2 separate regions of the Homo sapiens genome follow, and region 2 is linked to region 1. Evidence: promoter capture Hi-C in 16 types of primary human blood cells and fetal thymus (Javierre and others, 2016). All regions are on one chromosome and are shown on one strand. Each heading gives the region's core, a stretch centred on a gene start or on the middle of the fragment in contact. The rest is flanking DNA. Distances are from core to core; before and after follow the strand shown.

What was found. The method cuts DNA at HindIII sites, captures the fragments that hold promoters and counts their contacts. A CHiCAGO score of 5 or more calls a contact.
Region 2: a contact is called between a fragment that was not itself captured here and the fragment with the promoter of HNRNPD in region 1, in 1 of 17 cell types (neutrophils). The highest score is 5.7, in neutrophils.

Annotation. Positions count from the first base shown.
Region 1 is chr4:82,371,231-82,376,260 of GRCh38, reverse strand. HNRNPD (heterogeneous nuclear ribonucleoprotein D) reads left to right here and starts at 2,270. Exons shown (of 9, transcript NM_031370.3): 1 at 2,270-2,815; 2 at 4,677-4,733. The coding sequence starts at 2,583. It overlaps HNRNPD-DT (HNRNPD divergent transcript), which reads right to left and starts at 1,693. Exons shown (of 2, transcript NR_183813.1): 1 at 1,596-1,693. RefSeq lists enhancers at 2,142-2,311, 3,672-3,721 and a silencer at 2,672-2,771. The HindIII fragment of the contact is 7,055 bases long and covers 1,144-5,030 here.
Region 2 is chr4:77,859,746-77,864,775 of GRCh38, reverse strand. It overlaps MRPL1 (mitochondrial ribosomal protein L1), which reads right to left and starts at 1,946. Exons shown (of 9, transcript NM_020236.4): 1 at 1,897-1,946. The coding sequence starts at 1,927. RefSeq lists enhancers at 1,399-1,498, 1,859-2,258 and a silencer at 3,743-3,958. The HindIII fragment of the contact is 4,015 bases long and covers 827-4,841 here.

The sequences.
Region 1 (5,030 bases), core at 1,021-3,520:
TTACAGGCGTGAGCCACCACGCCTGCCAGAAGTTAAGTGAGTTCCAAGAAGAATATTGTGTGGATGCAGGAGCACATCCTGGATGTAGAGATCTTGGCCATAATATCAAGGACTATCAGTGATATGGACATCATACATCCTCATAAAGCATGTAAAGGTGTTAGCTTTAAAATCATTCCTAGGTTGTCTGGAACTTTTGACATAAATTCTAAGAATTCCAGAAGCTCCTAAGCTACATGTGAAATCAAAATGAACCTTTTGGAAAAGTCACTATTACCAAAAGGTGGGTATGTCTAATGATATCTTAAGATCAAAATAAATGACAATTACCGTCACTTGAGCCAGAAAAGATTAAACAGACTTCCCTTCAGTCAATCATCTTAGTTGTATCTAACCCGGAATATATGGTTTGAGCACCATATCCACTTTATCCTTTGCTAATATTCTGGCAGGTGGAGACAAATGTGGAGTCACTACCACTTTACGGTAAACATTCTTGGTATTACCTTTATGTGACTTGATTATTACGGGAGTTTGGTAAGATTATATTTTTAGGACGTTTTCAGAATTTGACCTGTATTCTTGAGTTTTAATTATTCTGTAATGTAAATTCTACTAACTTGATTAATAAAACTTACTTATAATCTTCCTTTGAGATTTTTGGATAGTGTCCAATTAATACAAATTCGTTTAACTGCAGTGGAAAATACCTAAACTTTTTTTTTTTTTTTTTTTTTGAGACGGAGTCTCGCTCTGTCGCCCAGGCTGGAGTGCAAGTGGCATGATCTCGACTCCCTGCAATCTCCACCTCCCGGGTTCAAGCGATTCTCCTGCCTCAGCCTCCTGAGTACCTGAGATTACAGGTACCGGCCACCACGCCCGGCTAATTTTTGTATTTTTAGTAGACACGGGGGTTTCACCATGTTGGTCAGGCTTGTCTCGAACTCCTGACCTCGTGATCCGCCCGCCTCGGCCTCCCAAAGTGCTGGGATTACAGGCGTGAGCCACCGCGCCCGGCCCAAATACTTAAACTCTTAAGATTTTTGCTGGAGTCTGCAAACTCGTCTTTGTTTCCCCCGTGCCCGAACACTTTAATTAAACAGGCAAATAATTATTTGTTGACTACAGAAGTACCTAGAAGCTTCATTTTCTTCTAAGGATACTGCTGGAAGCAGCAAATCCCAAAGCCCGAATAATCCAGTCTCCAGCCGAGGCAGCGGGAATTTTTAATAGGTGTATAAAATTACTTTTTATACACCTTAATGAAACGCCTAACGGTGTTACAAGAAAAGAAAAAAAAAAACCACGCACACACAACAAAAAAGCCAAACCCGAACACAAACTCATAAACCTCGTAAAGATGACTCACGACATTTATATATTCTATGTACAAAGGCTAAAGAACATTAAGCGAACCCTTGATTTAACACACTTTCCAATTATTAGTAACGTAAAGGAATCACGGTACGTTTTAGGATCTTTAAACAACAAAAGCAAAGCAAAAACAATGTTTTCCTTAAGATATGCAAGTTACCTGCTTCTTCGACCAAAAACAAAAAAATTCCAGGAGAAAAGCAGGCAAACAAAAATCTTACTTGGAAAGCCAAATCTTAAAAAGAAGCCCTATCGGCCCAGCGGCGATAGACGAAAACCTCAATGTCACCCGGTCCCGGGCGGCGACGGCAGGGAGAGTAGCTGCGGCAATCAGTGCGCGCGCGGTCCGCTGCGGCGCCTGGCGCTCCGCGGGCGTCCGGGTGGACAGCGCCAGGGGCACAGGGCTGACATCTCAGGGCTAATTCCCTCCTCCAGTGCGTAAATCCAGGCTTAAGCCGCCGCAGGGTGTGAGCCTCCCCTCCCCCACCCGAACGCCGCAGCTGCACGGGGCACGACAGCCTTCGCAGAGGTGCAGCCACACCCCGGCCTAACGCTGCTGCTCCCGCCGCTACTGGAGTGGTGGGGAGGGGTGAGTGGACTCCAGGAATCCTCGGAAGGGCGGGGGCGGAGGCAGGGGGCCCCTCTAGCCGCTACTTCGAAACAGCACTCCTTGTTCTCGATGGTCCCCGCGCGACTGTCTTAGCTCACGACACTTCCGGTTCCTTTTAAAGGCCCCCAAGGCTGTGCAACGCGGAGCGTGAGAGGAAGGTATAAAGGGTAGCGAGAGGGCGGGACCGAGGAGGAAAGGGAAAAAAAAAAAACTAGGGGGATAGGGGTGGGGGGACGCGCGAAGGGCGCGCTCTCGCGTCACGTGACCGGGACGCGCCGTTCTTCCGTCGGCCATTTTAGGTGGTCCGCGGCGGCGCCATTAAAGCGAGGAGGAGGCGAGAGCGGCCGCCGCTGGTGCTTATTCTTTTTTAGTGCAGCGGGAGAGAGCGGGAGTGTGCGCCGCGCGAGAGTGGGAGGCGAAGGGGGCAGGCCAGGGAGAGGCGCAGGAGCCTTTGCAGCCACGCGCGCGCCTTCCCTGTCTTGTGTGCTTCGCGAGGTAGAGCGGGCGCGCGGCAGCGGCGGGGATTACTTTGCTGCTAGTTTCGGTTCGCGGCAGCGGCGGGTGTAGTCTCGGCGGCAGCGGCGGAGACACTAGCACTATGTCGGAGGAGCAGTTCGGCGGGGACGGGGCGGCGGCAGCGGCAACGGCGGCGGTAGGCGGCTCGGCGGGCGAGCAGGAGGGAGCCATGGTGGCGGCGACACAGGGGGCAGCGGCGGCGGCGGGAAGCGGAGCCGGGACCGGGGGCGGAACCGCGTCTGGAGGCACCGAAGGGGGCAGCGCCGAGTCGGAGGGGGCGAAGATTGACGCCAGTAAGAACGAGGAGGATGAAGGGTGAGTAAGGGGCATCCCAGGATAGTCAGGCCCAACTAGTCCCCCTCCCCCTCTTTATTCCCCCGCCATTAGGCCTGGTTCCCGCTCTCAGCCCGTTCTCCGGGCCCCCATGCAGCCTCCTTGCACTGGTCTCCCTTTTTCTATGTTGGGTTCCCCGGACCTTCATTTCCTTCTTCCTTTGCCTGCTTATCGCCCCCCTCCCCCATCACACACGTTTCCACCTTTAGCCGTCACCATGCTGCTCCTCGGCCCGCCCTCCTTTCCTCCCTCGCCATGGGTCTCCTCCCACCGACTTAGCCGCCAGGATTTTTTCCCGCCTGTCGTGGGGTACCTTTTTTCTTTCCATGCTGTCCCCTCTTTTTCCCTTTTTCTACAGTCTTGGGCATAAAAACACAGACACAAACAGCTTCTCTGTTTGTATTACTAAGGTTTATTTGGTGCTTCTCCACCATCCTGAAACGATGCGATTGTTTATAAGCACATGTTTTGGGGAACGCGTAGGCTGTCCACCTCTGCCTCTCCCTTGTCGGCCTTAGGCCGACTGTTTTCTTGGGATTTTGAATAAGTTTCGCCTAAGGATTTACTCATTTTCTCCACCATACGCTATCGCACAATGGCATACTCATACAGGCCCTACATTTTGACATGCAGACCAAATTGGGTCTGGTGAAATGCTCCGAGTTTCTTGTTGGTACATTGGTTTTGCTCCGCGGGCTCTGGTTAAGTTCTTAGTCGATCGGGCCTGCACTTGACTGGAGCTGTTCCTATCTCCGGCCTAGCATCTACCCTTCCCCCACCCCACTGAGTTATTCTAACCGCGCACCCTTTTCGCGCCCTCAGCTATTGGGTTCCCCAACTGTTAGTACAGATTGTACCTTACTTTTTATGTGCAACCTAATTTTTTACAACCCCCAGCCCCCTTTTTTTCCCGGTGCCCAGGATCCTATTTTGGTGTCTTGATATCTGTTTCCCGCCCACTAAGGGAGGCCTGTAGTCCTCTTAAGAGAAACAAATCCTGTATTGTGCTATGGGATACTTTTTTTTTCTTTTTGGTGCAAATTTCTTAGTATTAACTTGCTTCCTCCAATTGAAATAACAGTTGTATATACTACCTAAATCTGCATTTAGTGTATTAAAATGCAGCATTTGGGATTGGGAACATAATACGGGAGTTAGCAGGAGGGACTAAATCAGGTTTCTTGGTTGAGTTTTCTTAGCTCCGATTACTGACCGATGATCGTGGGTTCACGCTTCCATTCCTTTTTGTAATGGGGAGGGGTGTGTGTGTGTCTGAATTTTTTTTTAACTGTAAAGAGAAAGGTGTTGGTGGATATAACAAGATGTCGCTTTAATCTAGTATTAGAAAACACGATTTCCTTTACTGAGAAAGAGCCCAGGATTTGGAGGGAAAGTTGGGAGGGGAGAAGCACTTTGGAATATAGGGTTTATTAAGCCCAGCCTAGGCAGATTCTTGTCAGGCTGTTTGATGATAGTGCTGGTTTTGGGGGAGTGGTGGTGGGAAGGGAAGCAAACTTTTAAAAATTAAACAGAACCAACTCGAATTGTATATAGCTTATTTGAGAAAGGAAGATGTTAGATATTTGGAAACTTAAAACCTTTAACATTTTGGTTTTCGTTTGCTGAATTCTGTTCTTTGGACAGAGGCACCAAAATGATTAATTGTATAACTTCCTGTTTGGGGCAGGCTTTCTGTTAGCCCTGATAATTCAAATCGCAAAGCAGCTGACTTTATAGTTACCTACTGTTGAAGTGTAAATGAATTAAAGTTTTTAACCCTAACAGTGTCAAAAACTAAAACTAGAATTTTGATTGGTTGCTGTACCGGTTGTTAATTCCCTAGCCATTCAAACTCCTCCCCACGACACTCTGAAGCAGCGACGGCACAGCGGGAAGAATGGTAAAACTTTTAAATTTTATTTCTGTATTATAAAGGTTTCAGTAGTCATAATATGTAGAGGCTGTGTATTGGTTAGTTGCCCATTGATCCCCAGGAAATTCTAGACCATAGTACATACAGTAGGTTTGTACCTGGGATATATACCTTTTATAGGCATCATGTGTAATCTTTGGGCAAAATTGATGCCGTTACATGGTATTTGGTCTGTGGTAATGCATGTAGTTGCAGTTTGGCAATTTAAGCTAAACAATTAGTAACGATATTTTTATATCGAGCAAGAAAAAATATTACCGTAAT
Region 2 (5,030 bases), core at 1,585-4,084, 4.5 Mb after region 1:
CCGATGTGGGGCCTTCTGGCAAAACATTTGCAATTTCATATTGTTGAAGCATTCATTGTATCCCTGGGGGTTTTCGCTATGTTCGCGGTGGCTGAGCCAAGAAAGAAGGCATGTGTCGACTCCTACAGAAATGATGATTCCATAAAAGATTTTGAGGAGATGAGGAAAACGTATATTTCAGAGCACAAAGTGATTTTGCAATATAAAGAATTTCTTTGGGTTGAATTACCTAAAAGTTTGTCACTGACCTGTGTTCTTGAACTATGAAATGTGAAAGTTTCTCCTGATAAGTAAACAATTAAAAAAATAAAAAAGATAGACAATAATCAAAGCCACAAACTTTGGATGAGCTAACCAAGGAGTGAATTTAGATACAGAAGAGATGAGAATGAAGGATGGAACCCTGGCTTCCAGAACACTCCAAAGTAAAGAGGCTGGGGAGAGGAAGAGGAACCAGCCAAGTAATGTGAGAAAAAATGACACATGAAATAGGAAGACAATTAACAGAGAGATATCCTAGAAGCCAAGAGAAGAAAATGTGACAAGAAAATTATAATATTCAGGTATTTTTGGTTTCTTTGGATTTGTGTAACATAACGATTTCTGTCATACATGAAGATGCCTTCAACCTCCTTTCAGAAATAATATACATTTTGGTTTGCTCACAAAGTAGGCATCAGGGTCTGTTGTTATCTCTTGTCACCCCTAATTTTTGAGCAATAACTCTCTTGACACAGTTTTCCTAAAAAGAAACTCAAAAAAAAAAAAAAAAAAACTGTGATGCAGTGTTAAATATACATGTATCACTGACCTAGGATTGCAAGCTTCAGTACTTCCTCTGCCATTTACTAGTTATATGAACTTGGCCACATATCTAATAAGTTCAGTTTCTTCCTCTGTAAAATGGGGGTAATGCTGGCTACTGCTTCTACCTAAAGACCTACCTAAATTAAACAATATATATCACTGGACTTCAAAAACACAAAATAAAAGCAAAAAGCGTTGCACAGGCCGGGCGCAGTGCCTCACGCCTGTAATCCCAGCACTTTGAGAGGCCGAGGAGGGCGGATCACCTGCGATTAGGAGTGCAAGACTAGCCTGGTCAACATGGTGAAACCCTGTCTCTACTACAAATACAAAAATTAGCCAGGCATGGTGGCACACGCCTGTAGTCTCTGCTACTCGGGAGGCCGAGGCAGGAGAATCGCTTGAACCTGGGAGACGGAGGTTGCAGTGAGCTGAGATCGCACCACAGCACTCCCAGCCTGGGTGGCAGAGCGAGACTGCCGTCTCAAAAAAAAAAAAAAAAAAAAATTGTTGCACAAGAAAGGGCTGTCATCGTAGACAAAAAGTTGAAATTATTAAGATGAAAAGAGGCGCTACCAAGAGGTACTACAGAATTAGCCCCCTCAAATGATAAACGTTGATCCAAATTAGACCACCTATGGAAGTTTAAGAACTGGAATCGCCTATAACGAAGTAATTCCGAAAGCACCAAAAAGCACTTTGAAAATTGCTCTAATTTACAGACTTAAGCCACTCAAATACATCATCTTTCCCTTATCAGAACTCACCTCACTTATCACACTCCACTACCCGCAGCCCACACCCCAGTATCAGAGACGACCCAGTCCTTGCCATGCCCATAGGTGGCTGGAGGGCGCTCGATGTACGTCCCGCTCCCACTCCCTCCCTCAGGGTGGACGTCTCCAGAATGGAGTGAAACCCTTCATAAGGTCACTTTTAAGTAGTAATGACCCACCCTCTGAAAAACCTAGAGACCAGAAACAGCACGAGGCATTTTCAGCACCCAGAGCAGAATCCGCCTTGCACTCTGCTGCAACCAGAGACTCGGTGCCAGAGCCATTTCCCCTGCAAGACAACCCCTCGCCTTACCTCTACCCATGCACCTTACGGCCGCCGCCATGTTGGGCACTCCGGATTGCGTTCACGAAATTGTTCCTACGTTTCTACTGGGAAGAATTAAAAAAAGGTTCCGTTCTAGAATCCGCAAAGAGGGAAGGAGTTAAAAAGAGAAAGAGGAACGGGGCGGGGACCAAAATGAGCTTTGCTGCCGGCGTGGCGGTGTTACTGTTAGTCCTCCGTGTTGCCCAGGACCCTGTGTGTTTCGTGGTTCCGGTATGGCTGGTTAACCACCTTCGGGAAAATACGATCCTGTTGGCGATGCTGTGATTATTTTAATCCTTCCTTCTTATTCTTTTTCTTTTTTGATCCTGCAAGTGTACTCAGAGCGACAATTTTAACAGGCTGTGAGAGTACTTAATACCCAACGTAAAATCTTGAAAAACAGGAACCCTGAAACCCACTAGCTTCCTCCGCCACTTTTCCGGCCTTGGAAAGACTTATTTTAAAAATTCTCTAGGCGTTTTCGCCGCTACCCGAGGGAGGTGTCCAACTCACTGACAAACTTTTTTTGCTAATTGTCAAACTTTCTGTCAGCGCAAGATCAACCTTAGCTTTAAAATCTTAAATTAATCTCTACATTTACCCCCTGCTGGCAAGCGAGTAGACTTACCATTAGGATCAATTGAATAATAATACTTGACATTTATAAAACATTTCTAGTTTTAAAATGGCAGCTCCAAGACCCACGCACAAGTTATTCTGATAGGAAAAAAAAACAAAAACAAAACAGAATGAGTGTACTTTCCATTACGTCACAGCTGTCGGTGTGGTTTATCTAAAACAAATCTGATTACGGATTTTATCACTTCCCAGCTTACCTCCCCCACAACACACACACACACACACACACACACACACACACACACACGTTTCTCACCTCCATAACTTGGTTCATTCTATCTTCTCTGCTTCGTGTGTACCGTACCCTACATCACCTAGGTAACTTTTTAAAGATTTCGCCTCAGGCTGTGTTTCTTTTAAACAGTTTTGAGATATAATTTACATAGCATACAATCTACCAATTTAAATTGTACAATTAAATGGTTTTTAGTGTACTCAAAGAGTTGTGCAGCCATCACCACAATATATCAGTTCTTGTCACCAGTCTGAGCTTTTTATGGGTAGAAACCATCTTACTCATTTTTGTAACCTCAGCACATACTTCAGTGCCAGGCCCATAGGAGGCTCTCAGTAAATGTTTGCTGAATAAATGAATATATGCATACATGAATTAGTGACTCAATTAGAATGGCAAGCCTGCAAAATTAACTTGCTTCAATGAAGCTGCCCACAGGCAGATGAACTGGATCAAAGGCATTTCCCAGATGCTTTATTCATATTTATACATAGTACTCATCTACATGAAAAAATAAGATTTCTAATGTATTGCCTTGTCTTGTTAACACCTAAGCAGTTACTTCAAAGATTCTATAACAATTTGTGACTTATGCAAAAAAATCGAAGAACTTAAATCTATCTTTGTAAACTTTTCCTTCTCTCCCTCGCTCCCTCTCATCCTCCCTTCTTTTCACAAATATATGAGTGCCTGCCATGTGTCAAGCAGTGTACTTGGCTATGCATAAATGAAAAAAACTAATTCAATTTGAGAGTAAGTACCAGAATTGGAGCAAGTTTACCCAGTCAATTTCAGAGAAAAACAAACACTCAGATTAGAGGTGCTGGTCCTTAGACCCTATATCTGTTTCCTTTCCACAGTCCACAGCTGGGGTCAGTTGGCCCCCATCTGTGGACTTTTTTTTCCCCCTCTCAAGACAGGATCTCACTCTGACACCCAAGCTGGAGTGCAGTGACAAGATCATAGCTCATTGCAGCCTTCACCTGCTGGGCTCAAGTGATCCTCATGTCTCAGCCTCCCAAGGGGCTGGGACTACAGGCACACACCACCACACCTGGCTAACTTATTTTTATTTTTCTTTATAGACAGCGGGGAGTGTGGGGTGTCTTTCTTTTTTGCCCAGGCTGGTCTCAAACTCCTGGCTTCAAGCAATCCCAAAGTGCTGGGATTACAGGTGTGAACCAACACGGCAGGCCCCATTTATGGACTTTTTTATGTCTACTGTTCTAACAAGAGAGTTTAAACATCCTATATTGAAACTATTACCATATAGTATGCTTACATACCATATAGTATGCTTATAGTGGTAGCCTAATTAAAGTAATGTCCTGTACAGGTACAGCTTACCTGTTGCCCACTCTGGTCACCAGAACTCGATGGCATTAGGTAGGATCCAGATTCCAGTTTTGTATATAACAATACATAAAGAGATTCCTTAGCCTGAGACTTTATTTTTATTTTTTTGAGACGAAGTCTCACTCTTTCGCCCAGGCTGGGGTGCAGTGGTGTGATCTCGGGCTCACTGCAAGCTCCGCCTCCCAGGTTCACGCCATTCTCCTGCTTCAGCCTCCCGAGTAGCTGGGACTACAGGCGCCCACCACCATGCACGGCTAATTTTTTATATTTTTAGTAGAGACGGGGTTTCACCGTGTTAGCCAGGATGGTCTCAGTCTCCTGACCTCGTGATCCACCCGCCTCGGCCTCCCAGAGTGCCGGGATTACAGGCGTGAGCCACCGCTCCCGGCCTTAGCCTGAGACTTTATAAAAACAACAAAAGGACTTTATAAAAACTACAAAAATCCATACTCTGAAATGGGAACTCCAAGACTGTAAATATTTAGTACATAATGAGTTTCTTCTCACTAAAAAGAGGTAATAGAGCAGGAATATCCAATCTTTTAGACCACACATAAAATACACTAATGATAGCTGATGAACTTAAAAAAAAAATCATCAAAAAATCTCATAATGTTTTAAGAAAGTTTACAAATTTGTGTTGGGCCGCATTCAAAGTCATACTGGGCTGCATGTGGCTGGCAGGCTGTGGGTTGGATAAGCTTGTAATAGAGCATTTTGGTTAAGCAGCTGTGCCCTGGAGCCAAACTGCCTAGGTTTGAATTCCAGTATTATCACTTAGTAGTTGTGTGACCTGGGGCAAATTTATATACCTCTCTGGGCCTTGGTTTCCCTGATATGGGGCTAATAATAAAATAATTTACTGAGGTGCTTACTGAAGTACTTGGCACAG